Regions from separate parts of the Homo sapiens genome. Here regions 2, 3 and 4 are each linked to region 1. Evidence: promoter capture Hi-C in 16 types of primary human blood cells and fetal thymus (Javierre and others, 2016). All regions are on one chromosome and are shown on one strand. The core of a region is centred on a gene start or on the middle of the fragment in contact, and the rest is flanking DNA. Distances in the headings are between cores, read along the strand shown.

Region 1 (3,554 bases), core at 284-2,783:
TAGTCTCGATCTTCTGACCTCGTGATCCACCCGCCTAGGCCTCCCAAAGTGCTGGGATTACAGGCGTGAACCACCGCACCCGGCCTTTTTATTTTTTTTGAGATGGAGTCTGGCTCTTGGTCCCCAGGCTGGAGTGCAATGGCGGGATCTCGGCTCACTGCAACCTCCGCCTCCCGGGTTCAAGCGATTCTCCTGCCTCAGCCTCCCGAGTAGCTGGGACTACAGGTGCGTGCCACCACGCCCGGCTAAATTTTGTATTTTTAGTAGAGACGGAGTTTCACGGTGTTAGCCAGGATGGTCTCGATCTCCGCCCGCCTCGGCCTCTCAAAGTGCTGAGATTACAGGCGTGAGCCACCACGCCCCGCCCAACTCGTCCTTTCTTTAGACTTTATCCTGTGAGGGTGAATTATGGCCTGTCCCTGGACACACCCGTTCTGCTTTCCCCGCACCAACTGTATCCCAAATAGGGGAAGTAGTCTCTTCAACCTTCAAAAATGGGGCACTGGCTGGGCACGGTGGCTCACGCCTGTAACCCTAGCACTTTGGGAGGCCGAGGCGGGCGGATCACCTGAGGTCAGGAGTTCGAGACCAGCCTGGCCAACAGGGTGAAGCCCTCTCTCTACTAAAAATACAAAAAATAGCCGGGCGTGGTGGCGCGCGATTGTAATCCCAGCTATTCAGGAGGCTGAGGCAGGAGAATCGCTTGAACCCGGGAGGCGGAGGCTGCAGTGAGCCGAGATCGCGTCACTGCACTCCAGCCTGGGCGACAGAGCGAGACTCCATCTCAAAAAAAAAAAAGGGGGGGGGGCGGGGAGCGACATTAGGCCAGCGCGAGTGTGCGGCTCCAGGCCACCAGGGCGGCCGCTCTGGCTCTGCCCTGTTAAAGTGGGGGCAGCGCCCGCTGAAAATTGGCACATCTTGGCTTCCGCAGGTACCAGGGCCTTTAAAAAGGTTCAGCTGGCCGGGCACGGTGGCTCACGCCTATAATCCCAGCACTTTGGGAGGTTGAGGCTGGCAGATCACGAGGTCAAGAGATCAAGACTATCCTGGACAACATGGTGAAACCCCGTCTCTACTAAAAATACAAAAATTAGATGGGCGTGGTGGCGCGCGCCTGCAGTCCCAGCTACCCGGGAGGCTGAGGCAGAGGAATCGCTTGAACCCGGAGGCGGAGGTTGCAGTGAGCCGAGATCGCGCCTCTGCACTCCAGCCTGGGCGACAGAGCATGATTCCGTCTCAAAATAAATAAATAAATAAATAAATAAATAAATTAAAAAAAGGTTGAGTTGAGTCATCGCATGAGGTAAGTCTGTCTCCTCTCCTCACCCATAGGCTGCAGCCACAGGTCCGCACGGAAAACCAGGAGCTCCAAGACTGCCGCACACTCAACATCCAACTCGCGGGGCCGCGGGGACGGCCACAGAAGCCAATCGGCTCCTGCTACATCACAGACCCCGCCCTCAAACCTTGAGGAGCCCGCCCCACGCACTGCTGACCCGGAGCCAAAAGAACTGCGTGGCGTCCGATTCTGGCGTCACTTCCCTTCCCGCGATGGCGGCACAGGGAGCTGCTGCGGCGGTTGCGGCGGGGACTTCAGGGGTCGCGGGGGAGGGCGAGCCCGGGCCCGGGGAGAATGCGGCCGCTGAGGGGACCGCCCCATCCCCGGGCCGCGTCTCTCCGCCGACCCCGGCGCGCGGCGAGCCGGAAGTCACGGTGGAGATCGGAGAAACGTACCTGTGCCGGCGACCGGATAGCACCTGGCGTGAGGGCGGGGCCCAGGGCTGGGGGCGGGGCGGAGCTCAGGGCCAGGGGGTGGGGCGGGGCCTGAGGACAGGCTGTCAGTGAGGCCAAGATCCGGGGGCTGGGAGTGGAGAGGAGGAGGGGCGGGGCTTGAGGAAAGAACGCCGCGTTCCGGGCGCTGAGAAACCAGCCGGGTTGTGGGAGGCTGTTGACCTTGAATTATGCCGAGCGACGCCTACAAACCCACCGCTCAGGCCTTCACCAGGATTGTTCCCATTCCACTTCCTTGCCCAGTCTTAGGCTTCATTCCTTTTTCTTGCTAACGCTGCTTCCTCACCCTCTCTTGTCTCTGCGTCTTCTTTTTCCATTTGTCCCTGGCAGCCATCCGCAGAGAGAAGACCTTCCAGAAACAACAGGCTTCCCTTTCCTAAAGTTCTGCTGCCTTCTCTCATTTTCAAAATTAACCCCAAACTCCTTAGGGTGGCATTCATTTTTGTGACCTCTCCAGTTTCTAGCCAACACTAGGAAAGGGCATTGCCAGGCCAGAACACACTGTGCCCTCTGAAGACCACACGCCCTTTACCACCTGTGCCCTTTGCTTGGAATGCTTTTTCTTCCCTTTCTCCTTGTTTGCCTGCCTAGCTCCTACTCATCCTCTTAGCTTCATATCCTTTGTGATGTCATCCTTGATTCCCCTTCAGGCAAAGTGAGTGGTTCCCTTCTCTATGTTCCTGCAACATTTTTTTCCTACCTCAGTCATAGTTTTTGTAACATTATGTTGTAATTTTCTCTCTCTGTCTTCCTCCATCATACTGGGAACTTCTGGAGGGCAGCACTTCTTGTGATTCATCACTGTGTCCTCTGTACCCGGCAACAACACAGCATAGGGCCAGACACGTAGTGGTTGCCTTACTCATTTATTGAATGCTCTGCTAATTGTCAGGTGCGCTGCTAAAAATTTTGGAGGCATTAATTCACCTTCTAAGGTTGGTACTATTATCCCTTTTGTCTTTTTTTTTTTTTTTTTTTTTGAGACAGGATCTCGCTCTGTCACCCAGGTGGGATTGCCGTGGCACGATGACAGCTCACTGAAGCCTAGACCTTCTAGGCTCAAGTGATCCTCCCACCTCACCCTCTCAGAGTGTTGGGATTACTGGCATGAGCCACTGTGCCCAGCTGTTATCCCTTTTCACAGATGAAGAGACTGAGGCTCAGAAAGATGGAATAACTTGCTCAGTTACACATAGCTAGGAAGTAGGGAGCTGGAATTTTGTGTATTTTTTTTTGTTTGTTTGTTTGAGATGGAATCGCTCTCTGTTGCCAGGCTGGAGTGCAGTGGCGCCATCTTGGCTCACTGCGATCTCTGCCTCCCGGATTCAAGCGATTCTCCTGCCTCAACCTCCTGAGTAGCTGGGACTACAGTTGTGCGCCACCACACCCAGCTAATTTTTGTATTTTTAGTAGAGACGAAGTTTCACCATGTTGGCCAGGATGGTTTTGACCTCTTAACCTCGTGATTCACCCACCTCGGCCTCCCAAAGTGCTGGGATTACAGGCGTGAGCCACGATGCCCAGCCCTGGAATTATACATTAATGTAGGTTATCTTAATCCAGAGCCAGCACTCATGATCCCTGAACAAATGAACAACTGCGGGTATGTGGTAAAATGAGCATTGAATTTAGAGTCAGACTTAAATTCAGTTAAGTATTAGCTCTTACCACTTTTCAAATCTGTGACCCTAGGTAAGCCTCAGTTTTGTTCTGTTTTTTGGGGTTCTTTTTTTTGAGACAGAGTCTTGCTCTTGTCACCCAGG
Region 2 (3,121 bases), core at 530-3,029, 180 kb before region 1:
AAGCCACAGCAACACCTGGCTAGGATTTAATAACTCTGGTCTTTTTTGTGTTTTATTTATTTATTTATTTATTTTTGAGACAGAGTCTCGCTCTGTCACCCAGGCTGGAGTGCAGTGGCGCAATCTCGGCTTACTGCAAGCTCCGCCTCCCAGGTTCATGCCATTCTCCTGCCTTAGCCTCCCAAGTAGCTGGGACTACAGGTGCCCGCCACCACGCCCGGCTAATTTTTTGTATTTTTAGTAGAGATGGGGTTTCACCGTGTTAGCCAGGATGGTCTCAATCTCCTGACCTCGTGATCTGTCCACCTTGGCCTCCCAAAGTGCTGGGATTACACCACACTTGGACTTTTGTGTTTATTTTTAAGATTAACATATTTATGTGAAACAATACTGGGGTTTTTTTTTTTGTTTTTTTTTTGAGACGGAGTCTCGCTCTGTCGCCCAGGCTGGAGTGCAGTGGCACGATCTCGGCTCACTGCAAGCTCCACCTCCCAGATTCACGCCATTCTCCTGCCTCAGCCTCCCGAGTATCTGGGACTACAGGCGCCCTCCACCACGCCCAGCTAATTTTTTGTATTTTTTTTTTAGTAGAGACGGGGTTTCACTGTGTTAGCCTGGATGGTCTTGATCTCCTGACCTAGTGATCCACCCACCTCGGCCTCCCAAAGTGCTGGGATTACACGCATGAGCCACCGCGCCCGGCAACAATACTGGTTTTAAGTGCAAAGAGGAGATGATTCAAAGATAAATCATGTTACGCAGATAAGTGAACAGCAAATACTGGAGCTTGGGAATCACTGCCCCAGCCCAGGGCTTCTACAAGGAAAAGCCTTTCAGAGTCATGAGGGCAGGGAGGGAGGCAAGAGAAAGCTTCCCTTGGGAGGCCAAGGGAAGGATCGCTTGAGCTCAGGAGTTCAAAACCAGCCTGGACAACCTTGTCTCTACTAAAAATAAAAAAATAGGCCAGGCACAGTGGCTCACGCCTGTAATCCCAGCACTATGGGAGGCCAAAGTGGGCAGATCACCTGAGGTCAGGATTTCGAGACCAGCCTGGCCAACATGGAGAAACCCTATCTCTACTAAAAATACAAAAAATTAGCCGGGCGTGGTGGCGCATGCCTGTAATCCCAGCTACTCTGGAGGCTGAGGCGGGAGAATCGCTTGAACTTGGGAGATGGTGGTTTCAGTGAGCCAAGATCACACCATTGCACTCCAGCCTGGGCAACAAGAGCGAAACTCTGTCTCAAAAAAAAAAAAAAAGTCAGGTGTGGTGGCATGTGCCTGTAGTCCCAGCTACTCAGGAGGCTGAGGTAGGAGGATGGCTTGAGCCCAGGAGTTTAAGGTTGCAGTGAGCTGTGATCGCAGTACTGCACCCCAGCCTGGGTGACTAAGCAAGACACTGTCTCAAGAAAAAAAAAAAAAAGCTTCCTGGGCCTGCTGCTTCTGACACAGTCTATTGAGTCTCAGAGGCATTTCTGGACATGCCTTTGAGAACTACTGAACTCAGAGAAGAGAGTTCTCAAACTGAGTCCAAAGGAACTTCAGTGTACTACAAAATGTTACTAGATTACCTTGGGAGAGGTGGGGAAGGATTCCTGGGGAAGTACGTTTGAGAGGCCCTTCTCCAGTTCACTGCATGTTTTTTGTTTGTTTGTTTGTTTGTTTGTTTTTGAGATGGAGTCTCTCACTGTTGCCCCAGCTGGTGTGCAGTGGTGCGATCTCGGCTCGCTGCAATCTCCGCCTCCCGGGTTCAAGTAATTCTCCTGCCTCAGCCTCCCGAGTAGCTAGGATTACAGGCGCCCGCCACCATGCCCAGCTAATTTTTTGTACTTTTAGTAGAGACAGGGTTTCACTAGTAGAACAGCCAGGCTGTTCTCGAATTCCTGACCTCATGATCCACCCACCTCGGCCTCCCAAAGTGCTGGGATTACAGGTGTGAGCCACTGCACCCAGCCCACTGCATGTTAGATAGTCTGTTGAGGCCTGTGGAGTGCTCGGGTTAGGAAACCTGTTTAATGTTGCTTAGGACTCGTTCATCTTTGTAGCTTCAATACTTGGGACCTATAACGCTTTCTATAATCAGAGTGAATAAATGAAATGCTGTAGATGAGGAGGTGGGGGAGAGTGGTCAGTGGAAGCTTTAAGTAGTTACTAGCTTGATTCATTCATTACAAATGGGCAGCTGGGTGCAGTAGCTCATGCCTGTAATCCCAGTGTTTTGGGAGGCCAAGGCAGGAGGATCGCTTGAGGCCAGGAGATCAAGACCAGCCTAGGCAACATAGTGAGACCCTGTCTCTACAAAAAAATTGTTTAAAAATTAGCCAGGCGTGGTGACATGTGCCTGTGGTCCCAGCTACTCAGGAGGCTGAGGTGGGAGGATTGCTTGAGCCCAGTAGGTTGAGGCTGCGGTGAGCCTGAGTCCAGCCTGGGTTACAGAGTGAGACCCTGTCTCAAAAAAAATTTTTTTTCAAAAAGTGGAAAACGCAAATCTGCCCTTGTGGAATTTACATTGTAGTTGGAGGAACACAGTAATGTAATAGGGAAGATATTAGGGCTGTAAGTCCAGCTGCGGGCAGCTGGCTGTCAAGATGGGACAGGTGTGGATCAGAAGCAGAGATGAGTAAAGGAGGCAAGGACCCATGAGCACCAGAACTCAGTCAGGAATCAAGAAGCCCAAGGGTGGCTGGAGACGACTGGATAACACCAGTCCCCTTGGCATGACATCAGGCAGCATGCGTGGCATTTGTGTATGTGTTGGGCAGCACACTTTCTATGCTGGGAGGCCCACAGCTGGGATGAGCCCATGTGACCTGACAGCTGCCCTGTGGGCAGGCAGAGTGGGGGGGCTATTGCCTTCAATCATAAACGAGGCTTCTGAGGCTCAGGGAGAGGAACAGACTTGCCCAGGGTCTCATTTCCAGTTAGTGATGGAGTTGGGTTCCAATCCCAGTGCTCTTGGCTGAGGTCAGGTGCTTCTTGCTACCCTGTTGTCTGTGTGGCCAGAAGAGAGCTGGGGTGCACCCTTGGAGCTGGGGAGCCTGGGAACTGTGGGCTGCTGAGAGCTGAGGGCTGAGGTCTCTGTCTCCCCCCTATGGCCGCCAGGTGCTATGACAAGCGTCTG
Region 3 (3,123 bases), core at 7-2,506, 220 kb after region 1:
GTATCACCCCACCCAGGGGAGAAGGCTGGAGCGCATAGACACCGATTCCACTTAGCTATTGGATGAGGGCTGCTCTTGGTGGGGAGAGTGTGTTAATTTCCTACCACTTCTGGCCTGCCCTGAGTGTGAGGAGAGTGGGCTCTAGTGGCCAGAGAAAGTGATACCAGTGCTGCTGGCTGGATGTTTGACAGGTGAACACAGCCCCTGACACGGTGCCTTTGGTTCAGGTCAGGGCACCAGGAGCACTTGCTGCCAAGGTGTGTGCAGGTGACATTTTGGTGGCTGCTTCCTCAGAGGGAGGATGCCCAGTGCCTGTCCCTCATACTTTGCAAACACAGTAAACACTAGCCTGGCCTGAACATACATCCTCTCTAATCCTCACACCAGTCCTTGGTATTTACATGAATTTCACTTATGAGGAAACCTAGGCTTAGATAGATCATACCAGTTGCCTGAGGTCATACAGCTGGGAAGGAATGGAGCTAGGAGTTAATCCCAGCTCTGCCTAGGTCTAAAGCTTTTCTCTTTTACTGTCCTGACAGCCTCAGAGGAATGGCCCCAGAACAGGCATGAGGGAGTGTGGGGAGAGGGTGGCTGTTATTTAACTGTTATGATATTGGGTTAAAGCATATGAAATTGATGACATGTTTTTGGACAAAAATGTTTCTTTCTTTTCTTTCTTTCTTTCTCTTTCTCTCTTTTCTTTCTCTCTCTCTTTCTTTCTCCTTCTTTCTTTCTTTCTCCTTCTTTCTTTCTTTCCCTTCCTTCCTTCCTTCCTTTCCTTCCTTCCTTCCTTCCTTCCTTCCTTCCTCCTTCCTTCCTTCCTTCCTTCCTCCTTCCTTCCTTCCTTCCTTCCTTTCTTTTTTCTTTCTTTCTTTCCTTCCTTCCTTCCTTCCTTCCTTCCTTCCTTCCTTCCTTCCTTCCTTCTTTCTTTCTTTCTTTCTTTCTTTCTTTCTTTCTTTCTTTCTTTCTTTCTTTCTTTCTTTCTTTCTTTCTTTCTTTCTTTTTTTTCATGGAGTCTTGTTCTGTCGCCCAGACTGGAGTACAGTAGTGTGATCTCAGCTCACTACAACCTCTCCCTCCCGGGTTCAAGTGATTATCTTGCCTCAGCCTCCTGAGTAGCTGGGATTACAGGCGTGCACCACAATGTCTGGCTAATTTTTTTTTTTTGTATTTTTGGTAGAGATGGGGTTCCACCATGTTGGCCAGGCTGGTCTTGAACTCCTGACCTCAGGTGATCCATCTGCCTTGGCCTCCCGAAATGCTGGGATTACAGGTGTGAGTCACTGTGCCCAGCCAAAAAATGGTAATTTCATGATCTTCATTGAAATACAAGAAAATCATGGCTTAGAGGGACACTTGTTTCACATGTGGCAGGAGGAGAGAGGGCTTACTCCTTAGGGAGGTGAAGGAAGGGTCCCCAAGGGAGGTGACACCTGACTGAAGCAGGGCCAGAAGATCTCCAGGCAGAAGGGAGGGCAGGGGAGGCTGGGAGAGTGGGCAGGGCTTGGGCATGAGTGCTTTGTAAGCCAGAGTGAGTAGTTCCAATTTCACTCAAAGTGAAGTGAGATGCCCTCAAAAGGTGGCTAATGAGACAATGGCCCTTTGTATCTGTGGGGGTGACACAAAACACGGTCACCTTTAGACGGTTCTTTGCTATTTCCTCTCCTGACTTAAATAAAGTCTGTTAAGAATTTCTGTGTTTCCTTATGTTGAAAGATAAAAGTCCTCAATATCTGCAGAAGTCCTGAATTGCTCCGGGAACAGAGAGAGTTCTGTACCTTTAGTCGCCTGTCCTTTCACCCTCCATGTCTGTAGTCGCCTGTCCTTGCAGCCTCCATGCTGGTCCTTGTAGCCTTCGTACCTAGTTGCTTGTCCTGGCAGCCTCCATACCTGTAGTTGCCTGTCCTTGCAGCCTCCGTGCCTGTAGCCGCCAGTCTTTGCAGGGCAGTTAAAGTCCTGTGAACTCAGAGTTCACCTCCGCGTCTTCAAATGAGAAGCTTGTGTTGAATTCAGCCAGATAGGAGCTTTATGATGGGTTAGAAAAGTCAATCATTTCAAGCGACAGATTTCCCTAGCATGACCACAAAGTGACTAATAAACAGGACCATAAATCTGGTGATAAGTGGCCAAGTCCAGGAACGTCTGCTTGCTTTTATTTTTGGGGATTTCTCACTTCAGAATAAATGAATCCCTTCAGTATCCACTCTCCTTTTCCTACTTAGAGTAGAATCTTAATTTGGGCCACCATGGGAGATGGTTACAATTCTGACTCCCAGTGAATGGTGCTTCCCGGCCCTACACCCTTGCAGTGTGACATTGCTGTCCCTGACATCACATGGTGCGGCCTGTCTACCTCTTTGAATCTGGGCTGGTCCCGTGGTTTGCTTTGATTAATAGAATACAGTAGGAGTGTGGTCGTGTGAGTTCTGGAGCCTAGACCTTTAGGAGCACAGCAGATCCTGCCCTGCACCCCTCGGAACACTGAGGTCACCACGCCGTGATCCATATGGCCCACTGGAGAAAGAGTGGACTCATGGAGGAGACAGCGGAGGCCACTGCCACTGTGCATGCATGAGGCTGCTGTGATCCTTCCATCCAGCTGTCCAACACCTGCAGCCACTGGAGAGTCCCACAGAACTGCCTGGATTGTCACCTCATGCAACTGTGAGAAATAATCAATTACTGATGTCTCAGTCCTGCGTGGTGGTTTGTTACGCTGCAATGGATATTGCGTATAGCCCCTTAGTTATAGGGTTCGTCTCCCCACCTCCTGTGCAGCTGGTGTGGCTGCCTGGCGAGGTTCTGGCTGATGGGATGTGAGCAGCAGTGAAGCGAGCAACTTCGGAGCCAGGTCCTTTGAGGGAAGAAGTGTCGTTTCTTTTCACCACCTTCCCGCTGGCTGGAGTGTCAGCATCACGGTGCACAATTTTGGACCCTGAAGATGAGTTTGACATCGAAGAATGCAAGAGTGGAACAGAGGAGGCTGGGTCCCGCCTCTGCGGAGGCACCATGTCAGCCCTGGACTCCATATTCTCATGCCATTACAGGAGAGAGATGAGAACACTGGTCTTGTTGAAAACACTATCACTCAGAGCCTCCGATACAGCAGTTTATCTGTTT
Region 4 (3,304 bases), core at 702-3,201, 180 kb after region 1:
TGATGCCTCCTTCTGTGTTCTTTTTGCTTAGGATTGACTTGGTTATTCAGGTTCTTTTTTGATTCCATATGAATTTTAAAATAGTTTTTCCTAGTTCTGTGAAGAATGTCATTGGTAGCTTAATAGTAATAGCACTGAATCTATAAATTGCTTTGGGAAGTGTGTCCATTTTAATGATATTGATTCTTCCTATCCATGAGCATGAGATGTTTTACCATTTTTTTGGTGTCATCTCTGATTTCTTTGAACAGTGTTTTACAATTCTCACTGTACAGATCTTTCAACTCTCTGGTTAGCTGTATTCCTAGTTATTTTATTCTTTTTGTGGCAATCGTGAATAGGATTGCCTTCCTGATTTGGCTCCCAGCTCTTGTTGGTGTATAGGAGTGCTAGTGATTTTTGTACATTGATTTCGTATCCTGAAACTTTGTTGAAGTTATTTATCAGCTGAAGGAGCTCCTAGGCCAAGACTATGGGGTTTTCTAAATATAGAATCATGTTGTCTGCAAACAGGGATAGTTTGACTTTTTTACTTCCTTTCTTCCTATTTGTATGCCCTTTTTTCTTTCTTTTGCCTGATTGCTCTGGCTAGAACTTCCAATAATATGTTGAATAGGACTAGTGAGCAAAGGCATCCTTGTTTTGTGCTGGCTTTCAAGGGGAATGCTTTTGCCCATCAAGTATGATGTTGGCTGTGGGTTTGTTGTAGATGGCTCTTATTATTTTGAGGTATGTTCCTTCAATACCTAGTTTATTGAGAATTTTTAACATAAAGGGGTGTTGACTTTTATTAAAGCCTTCTCTTCATCTATTGAGATAATCATGTGGTTTTTGTCTTTAGTTCTGTTTATGTGATGAATCATATTTATTGATTTGCATATGTTGAACCAACTTTGCACCCCGGGAATGAAGCCTACCTGATCATGGTGGATTAGATTTTTGATGTGCTGCTGGATTTGGTTTGCAGGTAGTGTGTTGAGGATTTTTGCATTAGTGTTCATCAAGAATATTGGCCTGAAATTTTCTTTTTTTGTTAAGCTGACACTTTTTAGTTTGATGCCACCCCATTTGTCTGGTTTGCTTTTGTTGCCTGTGCTTTTGGGGTCATATCCAAAAAATCATTTCTCAGAAGCTTGATTGTCAAGAAGCTTTTCCCTTTGTTTTCTTCTAGTAGTTTTACAGTTTCAGGTCTTGTGTTTAAGTCTTTAATCCATTTTGAGTTGATTTTGTATATGGTTTGGGATAAAGGTCTAATTTAATCCTTTTGAATATGAATATCCAGTTCTCCCCACACCATTTGTTGAAGAGAATGTCCTTTCTCCTTTGCATATTCTTGGCACCTTTATTGAAGATCAATTGACCATAAATGCATAGTTTTATTTCTAGCCTCCCTGTTCTGTTCCATTGGTTGATGTGTCTGTTTTTATGCCACCACCTTGCTGTTATGCTTACTAGAGCTTTCTTGACACAGTATGTTTTGAGATCAGGAATTATGATGCCTCCAGTATTTTTTTTCTTGAGGATTGCTTTGGCTATTTAGGGTCTTCTGTGGTTCTACATAAATTTTAGTTTTTTTTCTATTTTTGTAAAAAAATGCCATTGGGATTTTGATAAGGATTGTACTGAATCAGAAGATTGCATTAATACTCCAGTCCATGAACATAGGATATCTTTCCATTTATTTTTGTCTTGTTTAACTTCCTTAATCAATGTTTTATAGTTTTAGTGTACATGTTTTTCACCTCTCTGGTTAAATTTAAGCTTAGGTATTTTTTTTGATGCTATTGTAAATGAGATTGTTTCTTGATTTCTTTTTCAGATAGTTCATTGTTAGTGTATAGAAGCACTATTGATTTTTCACATTGATTTTGTAACCTGTAACTTTACTGAATTTATTCATTAGTTCTAGTAGTTCTTTTTTGGTGGAGTTTTTAGGGTTTTTTAAAAATATATTTATATATATATGTTTTTATATATATATCATTTTAAGTGTAAACAGAGACAAATTTCCTTTTTTATATCTGATTTGGGTCTCTTTCATTTATTTTTCTTGCCTAATTGCTGTGACCAGGACTTCCAGTACTATGTTACATAGAAGTAGTGAGAGTGAGCATTCTTGCCTTTTTCCTCATTTTAGTGGTAAAGCTTTCAATTTTTCACCATTGAGTATGATGTTTGTTGTGGGCTTGTCGTATATGGCCTTTATCATATTGAGGTACATTCCTTCTGTAGCGAATTTATTGAGAGTTTTTATTATAAAAGAATGTTGAATTTTGTCAAATGCTTTTTTTTGCGTATATTGAGATGATCATGTGGTTTTAGTCCTTCATTCTGTTAATGTGATATGCCACATTAATTGATTTGCATATGTGGAATCATCCTTGCATCTCGCATCCCAGGGATAAATCACACTTGATCATGGTTATTATCTTTTTATCTTTTTTTTTTTTTTTTTTAACAGAGTCTCTCTGTGTTGCCCAGGCTGGAGTGCAGTGGCGTTATCTCGGCTCACTGCAAGCTCCACCTCCCAGGTTCACGCCATTCTCCTGCCTCAGCCTCTTGAGTAGCTGGGACTATAGGCGCCCGCCACCATGCCCTGCTAATTTTTTTTTTTTTGTATTTTTAGTAGAGATGGGGTTTCACCATGATTTCCAGGTTGGTCTCGAACTCCTGACCTCAGGTGATCCACACGCCCTGGCCTCCCAAAATGCTGGGATTACAGGCATGAGCCACTGCATCTGGCCGGTTATATGACTTTATATGTTTGTCAAAACTCATAAAACTATGTACTAAAAGGCTGAATTTTATTGTATGTAAACTCTTCCCCAATAAATCTGACCTAAAAAACAATCAAATTCTGTTGACTTTAGGATAAAGTATTCAGTTATCAATGAGTCTTCCCTCAATGGTGTATGAGGCAGAAATCACGTTGCAGAGCCGTGGCATGATGTCCCCTGCACATTCCCTTTCTAGAACTTGTCCCAGTTTGAAATTGCTATACACATCTCCCTGTTAATCCATTGATTACTCTCCTCTCCTCCACCTGGCTGCACTGAGGGCCCTGGAAGGCACTGTATCTCTATTACCCAGCTGTGTGCTTAGCAATAAGAAACACTTGTTTGTTGAATGAATGAATAAATGAATGAATGAATGTATGATTAAATAGGTGAATTTTATGGATGAATTCTACATATTGACCTTGAAGATATTTCTTAATATCACAACAAATATTCAAATAACAAATAGTTATTTTTAATCTAAGCCAGTTATTAGCCTTATTAGTCAGAGTGCCAACTTTGACTTT

Evidence for each region. Contacts are between HindIII fragments. The CHiCAGO score rates a contact against its expected background, and 5 or more counts as called.
Region 2: a contact is called between a fragment that was not itself captured here and the fragment with the promoter of KAT8 in region 1, in 1 of 17 cell types (naive B cells). The highest score is 5.2, in naive B cells.
Region 3: a contact is called between a fragment that was not itself captured here and the fragment with the promoter of KAT8 in region 1, in 2 of 17 cell types (monocytes and naive B cells). The highest score is 11.0, in monocytes.
Region 4: a fragment that was not itself captured here is called in contact with the fragment with the promoter of KAT8 in region 1 in 1 of 17 cell types (monocytes); the score reaches 5.8 in monocytes.

The regions. Positions count from the first base shown.
Region 1 is chr16:31,116,131-31,119,684 of GRCh38, forward strand. KAT8 (lysine acetyltransferase 8) reads left to right here and starts at 1,534. Exons shown (of 11, transcript NM_032188.3): 1 at 1,534-1,762. The coding sequence starts at 1,552. It also overlaps a transcript of BCKDK not described here. RefSeq lists silencers at 1,352-1,578, 1,478-1,827 and an enhancer at 1,998-2,117. The HindIII fragment of the contact is 10,033 bases long and covers 1-3,554 here.
Region 2 is chr16:30,939,014-30,942,134 of GRCh38, forward strand. FBXL19 (F-box and leucine rich repeat protein 19) reads left to right here. Exons shown (of 11, transcript NM_001382779.1): 8 at 3,103-3,121. Among named protein-coding and RNA genes, the nearest start is that of ORAI3, 8.5 kb to the right of the region's middle. RefSeq lists a silencer at 2,997-3,121. The HindIII fragment of the contact is 714 bases long and covers 1,423-2,136 here.
Region 3 is chr16:31,333,746-31,336,868 of GRCh38, forward strand. No RefSeq gene overlaps it. Among named protein-coding and RNA genes, the nearest start is that of ITGAX, 20 kb to the right of the region's middle. The HindIII fragment of the contact is 1,483 bases long and covers 516-1,998 here.
Region 4 is chr16:31,293,669-31,296,972 of GRCh38, forward strand. The region is part of intron 12 of ITGAM (integrin subunit alpha M); the gene reads left to right. Among named protein-coding and RNA genes, the nearest start is that of ITGAM, 35 kb to the left of the region's middle. The HindIII fragment of the contact is 384 bases long and covers 1,760-2,143 here.